Linked DNA regions of Homo sapiens: region 1 is linked to region 2. Evidence: promoter capture Hi-C in human tissues and cell types (Jung and others, 2019). All regions are on one chromosome and are shown on one strand. Each heading gives the region's core, a stretch centred on a gene start or on the middle of the fragment in contact. The rest is flanking DNA. Distances are from core to core; before and after follow the strand shown.

The links. Contacts are between HindIII fragments. The study calls those that stand out against the background at their distance.
Region 1: the fragment with the promoter of NLRX1 here is called in contact with a fragment that was not itself captured in region 2 in 1 of the 25 tissues and cell types used here (mesenchymal stem cells).

The regions. Positions count from the first base shown.
Region 1 is chr11:119,166,816-119,170,836 of GRCh38, forward strand. It overlaps NLRX1 (NLR family member X1), which reads left to right and starts at 1,910. Exons shown (of 10, transcript NM_001282144.2): 1 at 1,910-2,487. RefSeq lists a silencer at 1,819-2,428 and enhancers at 2,000-2,705, 2,706-3,410. The HindIII fragment of the contact is 23,273 bases long and covers 1-4,021 here.
Region 2 is chr11:118,792,391-118,796,119 of GRCh38, forward strand. No RefSeq gene overlaps it. Among named protein-coding and RNA genes, the nearest start is that of DDX6, 3.1 kb to the left of the region's middle. RefSeq lists enhancers at 1-161, 550-659. The HindIII fragment of the contact is 4,819 bases long and covers 1-3,729 here.

The sequences.
Region 1 (4,021 bases), core at 660-3,159, 370 kb after region 2:
TGCTGGGATGCCCTGCCTTTCCTTTCTCTGATTTATTTATTTATTGAGACAGGGTCTCTCTCTGTTGCCCAGGTTGGAGTGCAGTGGTGCAATCTTGGCTCACTGCAACCTCCGCCTCCCAGGTTCAAGCAATTCTCCTGCTTCAGTCTCCTGAGTAGCTGTGATTATGGGCATGTGCCACCATGCCCAGCTAATTTTTTGTGCTTTTGTTTTTATTTTTGAGACACGGTTTTGCTTTATCTCCCAGGCTAGAGTGCAGTGGCATGATCTCGGCTCACTGCAACCTCTACCTCCCAAGTTCAAGCAATTCTTGTGCCTCAGCCTTCTGAGTAGCTGGTACTACAGGCCCATGCCACCACGTCTGGTTGATTTTTTTTTTTTTTTTGATACAGAGTCTTGCTCTGTCTCCCAGGCTGGAATGCAGTGGCGTGATCTTGGCTCACGGCAACCTCCGCCTCCTGGATTCAAGCGATTCTCCTGCCTAAGCCTCCTGTGTAGCTGGGACTGCAGGCATGCACCACCCAGCCCGGCTAATTTTTGTATTTTTAGTAGAGATGAGGTTTCACCACGTTGCCTAGGTTGGTCGTGAACTTCTGAGCTCAGGCAATCCGCCTGCCTTGGCCTCCCAAAGTGCTAGGATTACAGGCATGAGCCACCATGCCTGGCCAATTTTTGTTATTTTTAGTAGAGACGGGGGTTTCACCATGTTGGCCATGGTGACGAGTTTGAGCTGGTCCCAAACTCCTGGCCTCAGGAGATCTGCCCTCACCCCCAGCCTTCCAAAGTGCTGAGATTACAGGTGTGAGCCACCGCGGCTGGTCCTCTGATTTATTTTTTCAGATCCAGTACAAATGTTACCTCCTCTGCACTCCCTTTTCCAGACTCTCCTAATGCCTTGCCTCTGCCACTGAAGTACATCATTTGTTTGTCTGTTTTTTATATTTTTATTTTCTATTTTCATTTTAAATAGAGACAGGGTCTCACTATGTCACCCAGGCTGGTCTCAAACTCCTGGTCTCAAGTGATCCTCCTGCCTCGGCCTTGAAGTACATCATTTGTAAATGTGGTAGTTGATTCCATTAAAGTGAGGTGCCTGCCTTGCTGTGGTTGGCAGCCCAGGGCCTAGTGCTGGACCTGGCTTGTGGGGGTGAGGTGCTCAGTGCTACCCAATACCACAGTACAACGAATGAACAAATGTCTAAATGAAACATCCACATTGTTTTCAGTAAGTCCTCTTCCCAGCCCTGCCCTGGAGAGCCTCTCTGTGGGTGCCCTAGTGCACAGCTCTGTTGTGTGAACATCGTACACTCATGCTTGCATACGAAGGCGTGCCCTGGCTGTGGGTGGTGGGTGGCTCCTCCTTCTGGGCTACGTGAGCCCAGGGTGTGGAAGTGTGTGGAAGTGTAGGGATAAGGGTGGGGGCTTTGGGAACTGGGAAGCCCCAGGGCTAGGCCATGAATGGGTGTCAGACCCGAAGAGCAGGTTGGGGTGCAAGTTGTCCTTCAGCCCCCATTCTTCCTTCTTTCTTAACCAAGGTTACCAGCAGCCACACACATAGGTCTGGGCTCTGAAGAGGACCGGATACATAAGGCAGAACCCAAGGAAGCCTTAGGCTCAGGTCTCTGCCTGAAGGTAGGCTGGGGAGGCGGAGAGGGACAGAGGGAAGAATCCCCTGGACACCGCGCCTCAGGGAGGCCCAGGGGTAAGGTAGGAAGACTCAGGCCCGGGATGTTGTTCTGGCTCATCCACTTCCTAACTGAATCAACCTGCACAAGTCATTTCACCCTTCTGAGCATCAGTTTCTTCATCTGTAAAATGGGCCTAACAAGCAGCCCAGCCTGGGAGGTGGTTAGTGAGGTCACTGGGTGTCACTGGCGCTTGGGAACCTGCAGAGGGCAGTACTAGCGGCAGTGCCCGCGGGGATGGAGGCAGGGAGGGGGGACGATGGCGGGACGGGTGGCGCCGGGGTTCCAGCCCTGCGCCTGCTCCGGAGCACCGGGCCCCTCTCGCTGACCCCCTCGTCCCAGGACCCCGCAGGCCCGAGTGCCTGGGCTCGTCCTCTTTCGCGCCCGCTGCCAGGTGCCAGGGCCGCGCAGGCGGGCGGAGGTGGGCAGGAAGCGCCACGCCGAGGAGCCGGGGACTCTGGGAGCTAGCGGGAGACGCCGGCGTCCGCCCAGCCGACCCCTCTGGGCCGCGGCCGACGGCTCCCGGAACTGGGCAGCCGCGGGTAAAGGCCTAGCGGGCTTGATAACCCCTGCGCCCTGGCTGGGAGGCCGCGCTGAGCGGGGGGCAGGGCGGGCCGGGGGAGGAGGCTGTGCAAGGGCCGCGGGGAGATCCCGGCCGAGAACGAGAGGGACGGAGCTGGGCGCTGAATGGCGGGCGTTCTGGCAAGTCTCCCCCTGCGTTCCCGAGGCCACCCGAAAGTAGGAGAGCTGTTTGGGACCCAGTTTGGTGGAGGAGCTCTGGACCTGTAGGAACACCGCCCCTGTACGTTTCCTGCAGTGCCCCCTCCTTTTCTCATTGCCCTGGAGACCTGGGTGATCACCGGAGAACTGCCCTCGGCCCCGCAAGTCCCGTCTTGACTCAGTGGCCCTAGATCCGAGGTTAAACCGGAACCTAGGCTTTCTCAGGCTTCTGGAGCCCTCTCTTAACCCTTCCGCAGCCCCTGGGACGGGCCAGCACCCAGCCAGCTCCTCCGCTGGTTGGCCCTGCTAAGGCAGGTGGCCCAATGCAGCCAGTTCTCCTTAAGCGTACCCTGCCCAAGAAGCCCCGATCTCAGTGGAGGAGACCAGGTGCCAAATAGGGGCACATTCCATTTAAGTGAGTTCAGAGGCCTCAGAAAAGACTTCCCAGGGACGGAGACTTTTGAGCAGGATCTTAAAAGATTGGTTGGGGCCCGAGTGGTGGCTCGCGCCTGCAGTCCCCGCACTTTGGGAGGGCAAGGCGGGCGGATCACTTGAGCCCAGGAGTTCGAGACCACCCTGGGCAACAATGGTGAAAACCCCGTCTCTACAAAAACCAAAGCCAAAAATTAGCCAGGTGTGGTGGCACACCACTTTAGTCCTAGCTACTCAGGAGGCTGAAGCAGGAGGATGGCTTGAGCCCAGGAGGTAGAGGTTGCTGTGAGCTGAGATCGTACTACTGCACTCCAGCCTGGGCAACAGAGCGAGAGACCCTGTCTCAGGAAAAAAAAAAAAAAAAAAAAAAAAAAAAAAAAAATTGGTTGGGACTCTAACAGAGGAAAAAGGTCATTCCAAACTGGGAAGAGTGTATGAACAAATTTAGGACAGCAAGAGCAAGAATCCGGTGAGCCTGGGGTATAAGGCACAGGCTGGGACAAACTCAGAAAAATAGCTTGTGGGAGCCCAGTGTTTGGACTCTATAAGTAACCTTGGACTTTTCGGGAGGTGCTTGGTGCTTGGGGTGAGGGATTAGAATGGGATGAGACTGAAGGCAGAAAGGCTGGTGAGGAGATCGGGTCCAATAAATGCTGGTCGGGGCAGCAACTGGCTGGCAAAGCAGTGGGGAGGAATTGCTAGGACTCTTCACACTGCCTAAAGGAGCAAGGGAAGAAAGATTTGAAGAGAGAGGTCAGGTTTCTAATGTAAGGCGTGGGTGGGAAGATTTGCAGCAAGGTAAATGACAAGAGGAGGGGAATGATGAGTTCAGTTTTACATGGGAGAAGTTTGAAGCAGTGGCAGGTTGTCCATCTGGAGATGTCAAGTGAGAAGTTCATTCATTTATTTATTATTTATGTCAGCCTCAAAGGCTGCTTACATAAAAGTCACAGAGAACATAAAATGATGAAGCCATTAAAACTCAGCTAAAAGGATCTGATATCTGCGGAAGAAAGGCAGAGTGGGGTGGATAATTATTACTGGAAAATCTAGGCACAGAAAAGCCACTGAAAATGAACACAGGACTCCTATCTGAGCTTGCTGGTGGCCAAGAAGGAAAAAGGACACCTAAATAAAGCAGTTTACCAGGGTGGAACTCAGGGAAAGGTGTTCGTGAAGCTTCA
Region 2 (3,729 bases), core at 723-3,222:
TGGACTGTAAGGTGAAGAGTTAGTAGGGCGCAACCGTCTTCTCCTGCCCTCGAAGGGCAAGACTGAAGAAAGTAGGGGCGGAGGAGGCCGGGCCCTCCACTAAAGGGAGGGAAGCTAGTGAAGCGTCAGTTATAATAGAAATAGGAATTCAGTAAGGAAATGGAGAAGCTTAAGGCAAAGGGTGACTCTCCGGCCTGACCCTCACTATGAAGATATTTATGTATGTTCCCATAATACTTTTCAGATCCCAATGTCTGTGTTTATCCTTGACAGAAATAATAGAACTGCTGTCTTCTTCCAAGTTAAACAAAACTTTGGAGCTAAAAGCTAGCTAGGTCAAGAGAAACAAAATCTAATCCTCACCCAATTGAGAGACTGAATATACAAAGAATGGCCAAACCTAACCATGACCTCCTACCCATAACCTCTTCAGTAATCGGCCAGAAGGGTCAGGACTTAATCTTTAACCGGCAGCTTCCCTATTTCTTGCCCCTGCTTCCAGCTCTGGGCCAATCAGAGAAAGCCAAATGTGCTCCTCACACCAATCGCGTAAGAAGCCCTGCTTCTAGTATAGCCCTCCTCCAACTTCCCGATGCCAACATCCTCCAATCAGAGCCAACCTGAAGTTTCTCCCTTTTTTCAGTATATGTAAAGCTTTTCCACTCCCCTGCCTGCCTATGAGTCTGTTAAATCAAGTGATGGGTCGCGGCTGACTCTTGCCAGCTCTGAGTAAATAGCCTATTCTCATTTGGTGGTCGTTATTTCTACACAGCCGGTGGGAAGGTGGTGGAGAATAGTGAAGACTATTCTTAAGGTTAAAAAGAAGGTTCGGCTTACATTTTTTTTTTATTTTAAATTTACAGCATGGCGTCTCCAGCCCAGGTTTTAAAATACCTTCTAATGTAAGGAAATAGCCCTGCACCTTGTGCCCATCCTAGAGAGAAAATGGTTTCTTAATAAAAAATGTATGAGGCCTTTTTTGCCCCAATATCTTCCCAAGCAGAGGAATGTGAAGGGGGGTTGGGCCAAGAAGTGAGTGGTAGGAAGAGAGGCCTACGGATTTAAAACAGGCCACTGCTTGGAGGGGTGTCTTTCCTAAACCACTGAAGAAATTGAACCAGGCAAAGGAAGGGGGTTCACACCCACAAATAAACTATAACCTACAAAAGGAGCCCGGGTTCACATCCACAAATAAATTGTAACCTACACAAGGAGTCTGGTTGAGGTCACAAAACAAAAGCCAGGAGGCAACCAAAAGTAGAATATGAAATAGGTGCTGCCTTCTCACCTAGGAATCCTTCCAGGGCTAAAACCTTCAAATATTCTGCTTTTAAGGTAGTCAGATACCCTCACAACTCATTTACATCAGCCCTTCTCTGTTTTCAAGTGAGAAGCATAGATGGTTTAGAATTAAGCTATGAACTCTTGGATCTTTTCTTCCAAGTTTAGTGTTAGTGGTAGATAGGTCTAGTCCAACTATCTCAATACATTGTTTTCTCCCTAGTTAAAACAGATTTGCAAGAATCATTTGTATGACACTTTAGGAATACAGATAAATTGCTAGTGCAAATAATATCCTTATATTTATAAAATATATGTGTACTTTTAAAAAAGTTATATGAATCCAATCCTCTGGCCTTTTAGTTAGTATTGAGTGTGATAGTTGTGGGAGATCTGTAGTAAATACGGTTTCTGAAGGGTGTGCTATCATCCCTAATGAACTCACCTATTAATTGTGGTAAAGAGTTTTTCACTTGGGCTGGGCACGGTGGCTCACGCCTGTAATCCCAGCACTTTGGGAGGCCGAGGCAGGTGGGTCGACTGAGGTCAGGAGTTCCAGACCAGCCTAGCCAACATGGTGAAACCCCGTCTGTACTAAAAAAAAAAAAAAGAAAAAAAATAGCTGGGCATGGTGGCAGGTGCCTGTAATCCCAGCTACTTGGGAGGCTGAGGCAGGAGAATCCCTTGAACCTGGGGAGGCGGAGGTTGCAGTGAGCCAAGATCGTGCCATTGCACTCCAGCCTGGGCAACAAGAGCAAAACTCCGTCTCAAAAAAAAAAAAAAAAAGAAAAAGAAAAAGAAATGAAAAAAAAAGTTTCCCAACATGTATTAGCCGTTTTCATGTTGTCTGTATTCACCTTTGCGTCATCACCCCTCTTCAATTTCCTCCTGGAATTCAATCACAGTAATGGGTTATCTCAGCATATATTATTCGCCAGTCTCACATCCTGACCTCATTTATTTACCTAAAAATAACCAGAACGAAAAAAAAATCACAGATTAATTTACACTTGATTTCACTTTAACTTCAATTTAAAATACTTAGAATCCAGAATTCCTAGTAAGTTGAACCTGGAATACGCAGACCTGTGATAATATCTTAAACACTCAAATGTTTTCAACTTGCTGAAATGGAGTTCACACTTTTAACATTCTGGGCTTTTTTTTTAAAAGGGACTATAATACTTTAACTCAAATTACAATCAAATGTGTTCATTACCTATAAGAAAAAAATTTTACCTATCTCATATCTTCAGTGAAATGATTATATCACATCTGGCTAAGCTTTACCATTTGGTATTTGCCCTCTTTCAAGTGATTTGCAGTATAATACTTTGATTTCCCAAAATTTCAACATACAAAGTTATTTTCCAAATATGCTCAAGCAACATCTGATCATCACTAACAAGACTAAAGGCTAATATGCCCAAGGAGCCAAGTCCCGTTTTCTTGGGACTTCATAGCAGGTAAAAATTGCCTTTTCAATTTATACACCTGAAGAAAGTGAAGCAGCATCAGTCACTGAGGGCTTAGTAGAGATGTCCTCAGAGAGGTGCACATACTGCGCTGAAGTTGATGCATACTAAGCAGGCGTGCTTAATCACTGAGAGGTTACATCAGGCACATTTTGTTGGAATAAATGTTCCAACCCCTGAGTAAACTCAAATTGAAAAGTAGGAAAGTTGGCCAGCGCGGTGGCTCACACCTGTAATCCCAGCACTTTGGGAGGCCAAGGTGGGCGGATCACGTGAGGTCAGGAGTTCGAGACCAGCCTGGCCAACATGGTGAAACCCCATCTCTACTAAAAATACAAAAATTAGCCGGGTGTGGCAGCATGCACCTGTAATCCCAGCTACTTGGGAGGCTGTGGCGGAGAATTGCTTGAACCCAGGAGGCAGAGGTTGCAGTGAGCTGAGATTGCACCACTGCACTCCAACCTGGGTGACAGAGTAAGACTCTGTCTCAAAAAAAAAAAAAAAAAAAAAAGTGTAGGAAAGCAATAGTACAAACGAGGAGGGGAGTGGGTGAGTTAAACACATTTTCCCCAAACTGCCAGGTTTACTTTGCAGAATTTGTATTCTCTTTCACAGATAACATAACCCTCATTCCCAGCACACCACAACCAAGCTAGCTAGCTGGCTCAGCTCACGGTGTCCTTCGGCCACATCGGGACTCAGCATGGTATATGTTCTGGTCATCACCCAGAGAATTCTAGCTATTCATTTTGACTCTTCAGTTTCGCTAAGATGACTGCATGCCAGCAATTTTAACTTATTTATTAATTTGAAAATAATGTGTGGCTGGGCCGGGCACAGTGGCTCACGCCTGTAATCCCAGCACTTTGGGAGGCCGAGGCAGGCGGATCACGAGGTCAGGAGATCAAGACCAGCCTGACTAACATGGTGAAACCCTGTCCCTACTAAAAATACAAAAAATTAGCTGGGCGTG